2 separate regions of the Homo sapiens genome follow, and region 2 is linked to region 1. The links are contacts of gene promoters, found by promoter capture Hi-C in human tissues and cell types (Jung and others, 2019). All regions are on one chromosome and are shown on one strand. Each heading gives the region's core, a stretch centred on a gene start or on the middle of the fragment in contact. The rest is flanking DNA. Distances are from core to core; before and after follow the strand shown. Region 1 holds the start of PITX3 (paired like homeodomain 3). Region 2 holds the start of C10orf95 (chromosome 10 open reading frame 95).

Region 1 (5,107 bases), core at 925-3,424:
TCTTTCCACATTACCTCAAAGCCATTTTCCTCTTCATTTGAAAACTGAGAGTTGGTGTCCTGGGCCTGTCTCAGATTGAGAGGTCCTGGAAAGCCGATTGGAAAATCCTCTAAGTGGGCCAAAAATTTCTGCTCGCCAATATCTACTTCTACATACCTCCAGAAATTCATCATTCTAAAAGCATGTGATTGTGCAATAGAGATGGGGAGGAGAGAGATGACAATTCCCTAGTCCCTCCTAACCACTAATCATCATCTTACCAGGCAGAACATCTTCCTCATAGATTTCAGTGTGACATTTATTGAGATTCTACATTATGCCTGGGAATAACAGACATGGTCCTTACCCTCCTAAATTTTATTATCATAGCAGACAACACATAAGCTGATCCCTTCAATATGGTGGGTGGTGTAATAGAAGGTATACACTGAGGGTCATGAGAGCAAGGGGCTAAACTGAGAGTTCAGAAAAGGCTTCCCAGAGAAAATAAGACTTGAGTGGAACATTGGAGGAGTAGGAATTGACAATATAAAGATGGGTTACTTTCACAGGAAGGGCCAGAGGTGTGCAGGACACTACTAGGAAATTGGAGATGAAGACAAGGTCAGGTCCTGAAGGTCTTGTATGCCAGGCTAGGGAGCTTGACCTTTATCCTAAGGGCAATGGGAGTCACTGAACAGTCAAGACATGACTGCTCAGATTTGCCTTAGGGGCATATTGTGTGACTGGGCTTAGGCTCTTTTTTTTTTTTTTTTTTGAGACAGAGTCTTGCTCTGTCGCCCAGTCTGGAGTGCAGTGGCGCGATCTCAGCTCACTGCAAGCTCTGCCTCCTGGGTTCACGCCATTCTTCTTCCTCAGCCTCCCCAGTAGCTGAGACTACAGGCACCCGCCACCAAGCCCGGCTAATTTTTTGTATTTTTTAGTAGAGATGGGGTTTCACCGTGTTAGCCAGGGTGGTCTCAATCTCCTGACCTTGTGATCCGCCCGCCTCGGCCTCCCAAAGTGCTGGGATTACAGGCATGAGCCACAGTGTTTGGCCTGGGCTTAGGCTCTTCGGAGCACCCAAGCAACATAGCCTAACTGGGAGAAGAGAAGGAGCCTGTTTCCTGGAAATTGAGGCCTAAGTCAGAGAGGGCCGAAGTCACAGTCTGCCAGGATGTTCCTTGGTCATCTGTCCTGTCCCTTGCAAATTCCTAACCAGCAGGCACCAAGGCCACACCTTGCCCACAGGACTTAACCTGGTACCACCAGCGGGAAACCAGCCCTGCTGAAGGAGGGAGAGCACAGCCTAAGCAAGACAAGGGTACAGACTGAAAGGCAATGCCTTTGGAGTGCCCAGCCCAAGCCCTGAGATCCAGCAGGAACCTCCTCTTAATTGTTTTGCGCGGGGAGGGAGATGATAGTTACTCGTCCAAGTTCACTCAGTGATGGTGCAGTTCGTGGCAGCGTTGGAATACTACTTTGGTTTGTATCATTCCAAACCCTGCTGTCTCCACGAAGTCACCTTCCTTGGAGAAGAAGGGGGAAATGAAGAAGAGGAAAGATATGAGGAAAGAGGAGCAGAGAGAAAGAGAAATGAGTCTTTTAAAGTGGCAGAGGAAGGAGAATGGTAAACAGCAGGAGCGAAGCGGCTGAGGAGAAAGAAGAGGAAAGAAAGGCGAGACGTGGGAGGATTGGAACAGAGACAAAAGGGAGGAGAGACGGACAGCGACAAGTGGAGAAAATCGGCGAAACTTGAGTGGCAGAGAAGTCTGAGCGCTGAGACCCGGCGGCCCCGTGCGCCTTCCCACCTGGCGCCGATCCACTTTCCTCGGGGTAGCGGCCCAACCCACTTCGCTGCCAGCCGATCCCTTTTACCCGTGGCTACCGGGACCACTCTACTCTCGCCCACTTGGCTCTGCCTAAGCGTCCTAGCCGGAGCGCGGTCTCTGCCACGTGGGGAGGGGCGCGGCCGAGTTGCTGAAGAGCGCTTCTGATTGGCCAGAGGGCGGGGTTCTTGGCGTCTCGCCGGCCAGACCCCTCCCTCAAAGGCGGGGCCTGGAGATCCACAGCTGGAAAGGGCGGAGCCCCAGCAGGGCAGCTGGAAAGGGGCGGGGCCTGACGCGCGCGGCTCGCCGCGGCGGGCTGGGGGCGCCCTGGTCTGCCATAAAGTGAATGGGCGCCGGCTGGGGGTGGCAGTACGCGGTGAGGCTCACTCCCTCCGAGAGTCCAGGAGCGCCCGAGCGGAGAGGCGGCCCGGGAGCAGGGGGGCGGCCCCCACTCCGGCCGGGTGCCCGGCCCCTGGCCCCTGCCTGCCCTCTAGATCGCCGCCGCAGCCGCCGCTACTGGGAGTCTGCCTGTTGCAGGACGCACTGTGAGTGTTTGACCATTCTAAGGACAGGGGCTCATGGGGCCGAGGAGCTATTGCTGGACCTTGGAATCCCTAAAACGAGACCTGGGGCAGCTGAACTCCGGTGCCTTGGGAACAGGTCGAGAATGGGAGGGCGGACTGCAGACCTGGGGCCAGGACTTGGGAAAAGGGAAACTCAGGGTAAGAACCAGGGGATAGGGAAGGGGGAGACTCAGAGGATCCGGAACGAAGCCGGAGACTTGAAACCAGGATAGGGGCTTCGCGAGGCAGGGAGTAGGGAGTCTGGAAACCATTACCAGAAAGCGCCCTGGAATCCCAGGGCACGGGGCAGGCGGCCAGGGAGCGAAAGGGGTTACAGAGGCCCTGGCCAGCGGGGGAGCTGGCGGGGCGGCCCCCAGTGTGGGGGCAGTTGACGGCGCCCGATGCCCCTCGGCCTAGGCTCAGACTCCTGGGGCTGGGAGCCGGGGTGCGCCTGGTCGCACACGCTTCTCTTCCCAGCTGCTCCGCAGTTGGAATAGGAGCTGTGTTGTGAGAGCCCGGCCGCGACTGAGTCAGATGGCCGCTGTGCGGATCAGAGTGACCAGGCGGCGGGTATAGTGGATCTGGCTTGGGGTGTCTGGGCCCAGAAGGGTCCTGACTTGAGGCCGCCTCAGAATCGGACAGAATGTCCGCGGTGCATGGGGCTCGGAGCGGACAGAATGTCCGGGTAGCGAAGTGGGTCTCTCCGGAGCGGGAGTTGTGTCTGGCAGTGGCGGACAGAATGTCCCTGGCTGGGTGGCATGTCCGTCTACCCAGCAGCGCCTGCCCAGCTGCTGCGTGTGCGATGGGGTCGGCTGCGGTGGGTCACCTCAAATCCCAGCTCACACTTTGCAAACTTGTTTCAGCTCCTTCGGGCTGCGAAGCTGTGAGCAGGGAGCGAGAGTAAAGGCTACAACCTGGCCTTGGGGTGAGGTGGGCTGGGACACATGCCCCCTTCAATTCAGAATAGATCAGAGCATCACTCTGTACTTCCAGAATCCAAATTTGAGGACAGAAGGCCAATGAGGAGCCTGCTAGTGGGAATCAAGACCAGGAAAGGAAGGAATAGGTGACAAAAGGCAATGGGAAAACAGGAAGGAGCTGGGTACAAGCCCCTGGCAGCCTCAGTTGCCCCCTAATTCCAATACAATTAACCAGACACCCCCCAGACTCCTTGCTGGAGTATCAGGCGACCAATGGCTCCTTCCCTACAGTGGGCAGGAGCCCAGGCCAGAAGAGAAAACTACAGCCCCATTAGCAAAGCAAATCCTGTGGTCCTGTTTCCCTTTTTCTTCCTCAGCCCTACCAGTCCCAACACCACCCTGGTGGCTGAGCGGAGGTGGGAAGGAGGCTCATGGAATCCAGACTCTGGAGTCCAACAGGGGGCTATCTGGCCCTCTCAGTCTGGTTGGGAAGGATATCTTGGCCCTACCTAACAGCCGGGTTTACTTTCCCTGCAGCTGGGATACAGCCCTGACTCTGCTGGGCCCATACAGTGACCATCCACCCTGACCCCAATTCTAACCACAGCTCAATTATGCTGAAGAGGACAGAACAGGGAGAACGAGTCCATATAAGTGAGCAAGATAGCCCAGCTGGGGACTGAGTTTTCACAAGGACAAGTGCAAGGCATTGTATTTAGCAATGAGTAATCTAAACAGTGGTTTCAACCTTTCTTACCCTTCACCTGTGAGTGACATACAATACGTATTCCCCATACTCCCATGTCCATTCCTCAGTTCTAAAGTTTGCTTATTACTGGCTAGGATTCTCAACTTTTGTTTTTCATTTGCCCTATTTTGATCAATATAAAGACACACCACAATTATCCCCATCACATTCTGATACACTTTTCAGGGGCTTGTGCTCCCATTGCTGTGCTCCCATAAAATCACTGAAATTATAGGTGAAATGAAGGACTCTGTGTCAGGAAAGGAACAGGGAAAGCATTACAGATGGTTCCCTGAAGACTTTAGCTCAAAGTTGGCTTTTGCCAAAAAGGCCAAAGAGGTGGTATCATAATGAAGGTGATTGGAAACAAAAGACAGAACCTTTTCCCACCCTTGCATAAAGCCTTGTAACTGAACGCATGCCTGGTCACTGGCTCTTAGGAAGAATGTCATGGGCCTAGAGTAGGGTCAGAGAATGATTGGCAGAATGGGGAGCCAGGGGTTGCTGGTGAGGGCAAATTTCAAAGTTTAGTCCTCTGGAAGGTGAGACAGGATGGAAATCTACAGCATAATAAAAGACCTAGATATGCAGAAGAATTGCTTGCTCCCCAAATCTTGAAACTGGAGATGAGGGGGCCTTTTAGAACTGGAGTGATGCAAGCTCAGGATGAATAGAAAAATGTTCTTTGGCACACAGTGGGCAGCATACTTCCAGAGCTCATTTCCAGAGAGATGATAGAGGCAGGAAGTAGAAATGGAATCCTTCAGGGTTTGGAAGGATCAGCACATGTCAGAGTCACAAATGGCTACAGGGTGGAGGGAGTGAGGCATGGAAAGAGCAGAACTAGATGGTTTGAATCTCTTCAAATCTCTTCAAACTGTGTAACCTTGCATCCTGCCTTCTTAGAGGTGTAATGGGGATAGGCACTCCAGCCATGCAGGGCAGTTGTGCGAGTTAAATGAAATTATGTCTGTGAAGGCCCTCTGCAAATGGAGGAGCATCATATAAATAAGAAGCACTGCTATTATTATGCCCAAGCTGCAGAATCTTTGTTTGGAAAAGTGGGGC
Region 2 (5,107 bases), core at 1,797-4,296, 210 kb before region 1:
GCCACATCCCCCTCTCCGAGAAACACCCAATAATGATCAATAAATACTAAGGGAACTCAGAGGCTGGGGGGATCCTCCGTGTGCTGAACGCCGGTCCCATGGGCCCCCTTTTTTCTTTCTCTATACTTTGTCTCTGTGTCTCTTTCTTTTCCAAGTCTCTCGTTCCACCTAACGAGAAAAACCCACAGGTGTGGAGGGGCAACCCACCCCTTCACACTCCAGCCTGGGTGACAGAATGAGACCTTGTCAAAAAGAAAAAAAAAAAGAAAAAAAATTCTGATCAGGCCGATGCTTGCTTGCACGTGCTAACCACTCACTTTTTGCCCAATATTCCTTGTTCCCACAATATAAACTGCTGATGTGCTGTTTCTTGGTCAAGCAGGAAGAGGTAACTTTGTGGTCATGAAAAAAAATTGCAGGCCAGGCACAGTGGCTCATGCCTGTAATCCCAGCACTTTGGGAGGCCGAGGTGGGTGAATCACCCGAGGTCTGGAGTTCAAGACCAGCTGACCAATATGGTGAAACTCCGTCTCTACTAAAAATACAAAAAATTAGCTGGCCATGGTGGCGCATGCCTGTAATCCCAGCTACTTGGGAGGCTGAGATAGGAGAATGGCTTGAACCCGGGAGGCGGAGGTTGCAGTGAGCCAAGATCCCCGCCATTGCACTCCAGCCTGGACAAAAAGAGCAAAACTCCGTCTCAAAAAAAAAAAATTGCAGGAATGAATGCCTTGAAGGACGTTGTGACCAGCTGCTGATGCCCAGAAGTCTGGTGGCTCAAGGGGTTATCTGAGACTGAAGAAACACAGACTTTTACCCTGGGTTCCCTGAAATGCCCCCTCCGTCACTCCTTAGTCACATTAAAAACTCCCTGCTGCTTTTTGAGACAGGCTCTCAGTCTGCCACCCAGGCTGTAGTGCAGTGGTATGAACACAGCTCACTGCAGGCTTGACCTCCTGGGCTCAAGTGATCATTCTGCCTCAGCGCCCCAAGTAACTGGAACTACAGGCACATGCCACCATGCCTGGTTTTTTTTTTTTTTTTTTTTTGTAGAGCCGGTGTTTCACCATGTTGCCCAGGCTGATCTCGAACTCCTGAGCTCAAGCAGTCCACCTGCCTCAGCCTCCAAAAGTGCTAGGATTACAGGTGTAAGCCACCCTGCTGCTTTTTTTCTGTTAATAGGGATTTGAGAGATTTGCTCTCCCGCCTTCTCACTTTGGCCAAATCAAATAAACCTTTCTCTATCTCCCACTGTTTGGCCTTAGCTGTGCATCAGGTTCACCAGCCTGAATCTGGGTTTCTATGACAGTGTTAGAGTCCAAATGAAACCCTAACCAGGCCCCTTTTTTCCATCCACAGCCCAGCCCCAGCACCTGCCTTCAAAAGGACTGGCCCGAATTAAGACTTGGAGCAGTGGCTCAGTCACGAATAGCATGACATCACCAGGGTGAGTCACCAAATGGTGGCCACCACCAGAGGGTAGCTGAGTTTTGAGGGATACTGAGAACCCAGAAGAACCTTTCTGTCAGGGCTGCTGGTGATACTGCTTCAGTCAACAGGAGATGGGGAAGGAAAGTGTGGCAACATGGCAGCCCTGCAGCTGGGAGACGGTTTCAGTTTTAATCATCCATAACTACCACTCTCCCCACTGGAGAAGGAAGAGGTGCAGGGGTTGTGACCCACACCAGAAGGGACTGGAACTCAGACAGGGCTCACCCCATCTGGATGAAGCAATCTTCCTGCCTTCACTCAAATGGCTTCTGGCCTTTGACATCAGTTGGACTGGGTTCAAATTCCACTGTGGTACTTACAGGCTGTGTGAACCTGGGACAGTGGCCTAACTTCTCTGAGCCTCTGGTTCCTTATCTACTAAAAGAGCATGACATCACTATGCACTTCACATAGCTATTAAGAATTTAAAGTAGGCCGGGCGCAGTAGCTCATCCTTGTAATCCCAAAACTTTGGGAGGCCAAGGTGGGCGGATCACGGGGTTGGGAGTTCAAGACCAGTCTGGCCAATATGGTGAAACGCCATTTCTACTAAAAAATACAAAAATTAGCCAGGTGTGGTGGGGCACGCCTGTAGTCCCACCTACTTGGGAGGCTGAGGCAGAAGAATCGCTTGAAGCTGGGAGGCAGAGGTTGCAGTAAGCCAAGATCGTGCCACCGCACTCCAGCCTGGGCGACAGAGCAAGATTCTGTCTCAAAAAAAAAAAAAAAAAAAAGGAAGAAAAGAATTTAAAGCAGCCGGGCGCGATGGCTCACGCCTGTAAAATCAGCACTTTGGGAAGCCAAGGAGGGTGGATCACCTGAGGTCAGGAGTTCGGGACCAGCCTGGCCAACATAGTGAAAACCCCGTCTCTACTAAAACTACAAAAATTAGCAGGAGGTGGTGGTGCACCTGTAATCCCAGCTCCTCGGGAGGCTGAGGTGGGAGAATCGCTTGAACCTGGAAGACGGTGGCTGCAGTGTGCCGAGATCATGCCGCTGCACTCCAGCCTAGACAACAGAGCAAGACCCCATCTCAAAAAAAAAAAAAAAAAAATTAAAGCGCTTATGTAACATTCTAGAGTGGGAGGACTTCGAGACAGTCTGCGAGAAGCTCCTGCACAGGTGGGCAATAAGACCAACATTGTGAGCCTGAGTCTTGAGACAGACTGGGGGTTGAATTTTGCCCTTACTATAGCCAGCTGTGTGAGTTGGGATGAGTTATTTAACCTACATAAGCTCCAGTCACTGAATACACTGGACACCAACTGTGAGGCAAGCAGCTTTTTGCTATGGAAAGCAGGGGTAATATCAGTACCCCCCTTCCTCGGATCGACATAACTTGCAGTTAGATGCTCCCAGACAACTCGATTCAGTGTCTGGTGTGCAGGAGTTTCACTCAAATGTGAGGATAACCCAATCCACCTGCAGGCGCTGGGAGGCTGGGGTGTAGTGACTGGGAGCTAACCGGATTAGACAGCCATCAGTAATACTGTAGGAAGGGCATCCTTGTAGGGTGGGGCCACTACGACCAGTACGGCTCACCCAGGTGTAGACAGACGCTGGTAGCTCCTGGCCAGCTCAAGGTGTTTCCTTTTGCCTGGTAACCAGGAGGAGTGGCTGAGGCAGGGCATGGAGCGGAGCAACGCAGCTACAAAGTGCGGAGAGGAGCCCCGCTCTGGATCCCGCCGGCTCCCCAAGGCTGAAGGAGACAAGTGAGTGGGGAGTCACTGGGAAGAGCATCCCGGCGGAGGGCTTGAAAAGGCTCCTTATTGTCTGCTGGGAGCCTGAGGCTCTGCCCGACCTTGGGACAAGAGGCTAGGCGGGGAGCTGAATGTTCGATTTGGGATGAATTCCCCCAAAGCCATGAACCGGCGTCCCGGGGAACCGGCCCACAGGGACAGGAGGCGGTTAAGTAGAAAGTCTGTCTACATATCCCTTCCTCCGCCGCAGGTCTGGATCCGCAGGAGCCCCCAGTAAGAACAGCAGCCGCCTGGGGGGCCGACCATGTATGTGTACAGCTGGCCGCCGCCCAAACAGGGCGTCTGGCCGCCGCCGCCGCAGCTGCTCACCTGCACCTACCTGGCCGCCCCTCTGCTGCTACCCCCAGTCCAGGCCCACAGCTTCCGCAGCCGGCCCGGGAGCCTGCATGCGGGCGAGTGGGCGGCCCCACGGGAATACCACCGCTTCTACGGCCCCGCCGCGCCACCCGAGGCCGCGCCGCCCTGGTGGGCCTGCCCTCCGGCCTACGCCACGACCCTGCGCCGGCCCTGCGCCGCCGCCGGCATCTCGGGACTGTCGCTGCAGGCGCCCGCGGCGGTGGCCGAGAGCTGGGCGCCGTGGCCGGAGGGCGGGAGCCTGCAAACCGAGCTGCGCTGGGGCCGCGTGGAGCGCGCGCGGGGCCCCCCTCTGCAGCTACCGGACTTCGTGCGCCGGGAGCTGCGGCGCGCGTACGGCACCTACCCCCGCGCCGACGTGCGCGTCACCCAGCGCCGCGGCCAGTTCCTGCTGCAGGCGACGCCGCGCGTGCTCGAGCCCGACCACCGCGTGGAGTGGCGCGTGCGGCGCCGGCCCGACAGCGGCGACAGCAGCCCAGCCCGGGAAGCCGCGGAGCGCGGCCGCCCCAGGAAGAGCAAGGGCCTGAGCTGAAGCCGCCGCAAGGCCTAGGGGCGGGCCCGCGTGCACGCGCTTGGCTCTTTCCTGTGTGTGCCGCCGCCGACAGGCAGAAGTGAGCCCTCACCTGTGCGCGGGAGGCGGACGCGCTGCTCACCTGTCTTTTTGGCTTCTCCCATGACTGCCGGCCAGTTTCCTGCACTTGTTTCTCTCGCTTTATTGCTGGACGGTGGGAGAAGGGCAAGTGCAAGACGGAATCGAGGGCACCTCTGGGTGTTCTGTACCTCTTTTCTTCTTGCACCTTGGGAAGTGGAGGACGTGGGATGGAAGAAGGGCCTGGACCTCCCTCCTTCCTCCTCCCCACCTTCTCCTAAGGAGCTTGCCCTGCAGTAAGCCCCAACTTTCCCTTCCTCTTTTCCCTCTATCAGAGTCGTCGCCCACCCCCCTTTCCCACCGCTCCCCTACCCCCGCCTTCCTGCCAAGCCGAGGGCGACGGTGATCCCCAGCTTAGTAAGAAAAGTAAATAGGCCGGGCGCGGTAGCTCACGCCTGGAATCCCAGCACTGTGGGAGGCCGAGGCGGGCGGATCGCTTGAGCCCAGGAGACCAGGTTGGAGACCAGCCTAGGCAACATGGCGAAACCCTGTCTCTACAAAAAAAAAAAAAAAAAAAAATAGCCGGGTGTGCTGATACACTACTGTAGTCCCACCTACTCGGGAGGCGGAGATGGGAGGATCACCTGAGCCCGAGAGGGCGGGGCTGCAAGGAGCCGCGAACGCACCACTGCACTCCAGCCTGGGTGACTGAAACCCTGTCTCAAAAACAAAAACAAACAAAAAAAAAAACAATAAATAAATGAGCGAAGTCAAGTATACACTGCGAGATCATTGTTATGTTTTGGGGTGGTGTTTCTCCATCTGTTTATCTGTTTAATGGGAGTCTTACCGCCCACCCTGGGGTACAGGAAGGTAGGGTGGAGGGGCGTGAAGTTGAACTGGCCCTCTGGAG

The links. The method cuts DNA at HindIII sites, captures the fragments that hold promoters and counts their contacts. A contact is called where the count stands out against the background at its distance.
Region 2: a contact is called between the fragment with the promoter of C10orf95 here and the fragment with the promoter of PITX3 in region 1, in 2 of the 25 tissues and cell types used here (aorta and heart right ventricle).

What each region holds. Positions count from the first base shown.
Region 1 is chr10:102,238,579-102,243,685 of GRCh38, reverse strand. It overlaps PITX3 (paired like homeodomain 3), which reads left to right and starts at 2,174. Exons shown (of 4, transcript NM_005029.4): 1 at 2,174-2,353. It also overlaps a transcript of GBF1 not described here. RefSeq lists a silencer at 2,023-2,312. The HindIII fragment of the contact is 21,724 bases long and covers 1-5,107 here.
Region 2 is chr10:102,449,482-102,454,588 of GRCh38, reverse strand. C10orf95 (chromosome 10 open reading frame 95) reads left to right here and starts at 3,046. Exons shown (of 2, transcript NM_001363580.1): 1 at 3,046-3,203; 2 at 3,442-4,752. The coding sequence starts at 3,496. The coding sequence ends at 4,137. It overlaps C10orf95-AS1 (C10orf95 antisense RNA 1), which reads right to left and starts at 4,772. Exons shown (of 3, transcript NR_038938.1): 1 at 4,567-4,772; 2 at 4,259-4,402. RefSeq lists enhancers at 1-208, 2,397-3,079 and silencers at 3,602-4,091, 4,132-4,211. The HindIII fragment of the contact is 10,367 bases long and covers 1-4,712 here.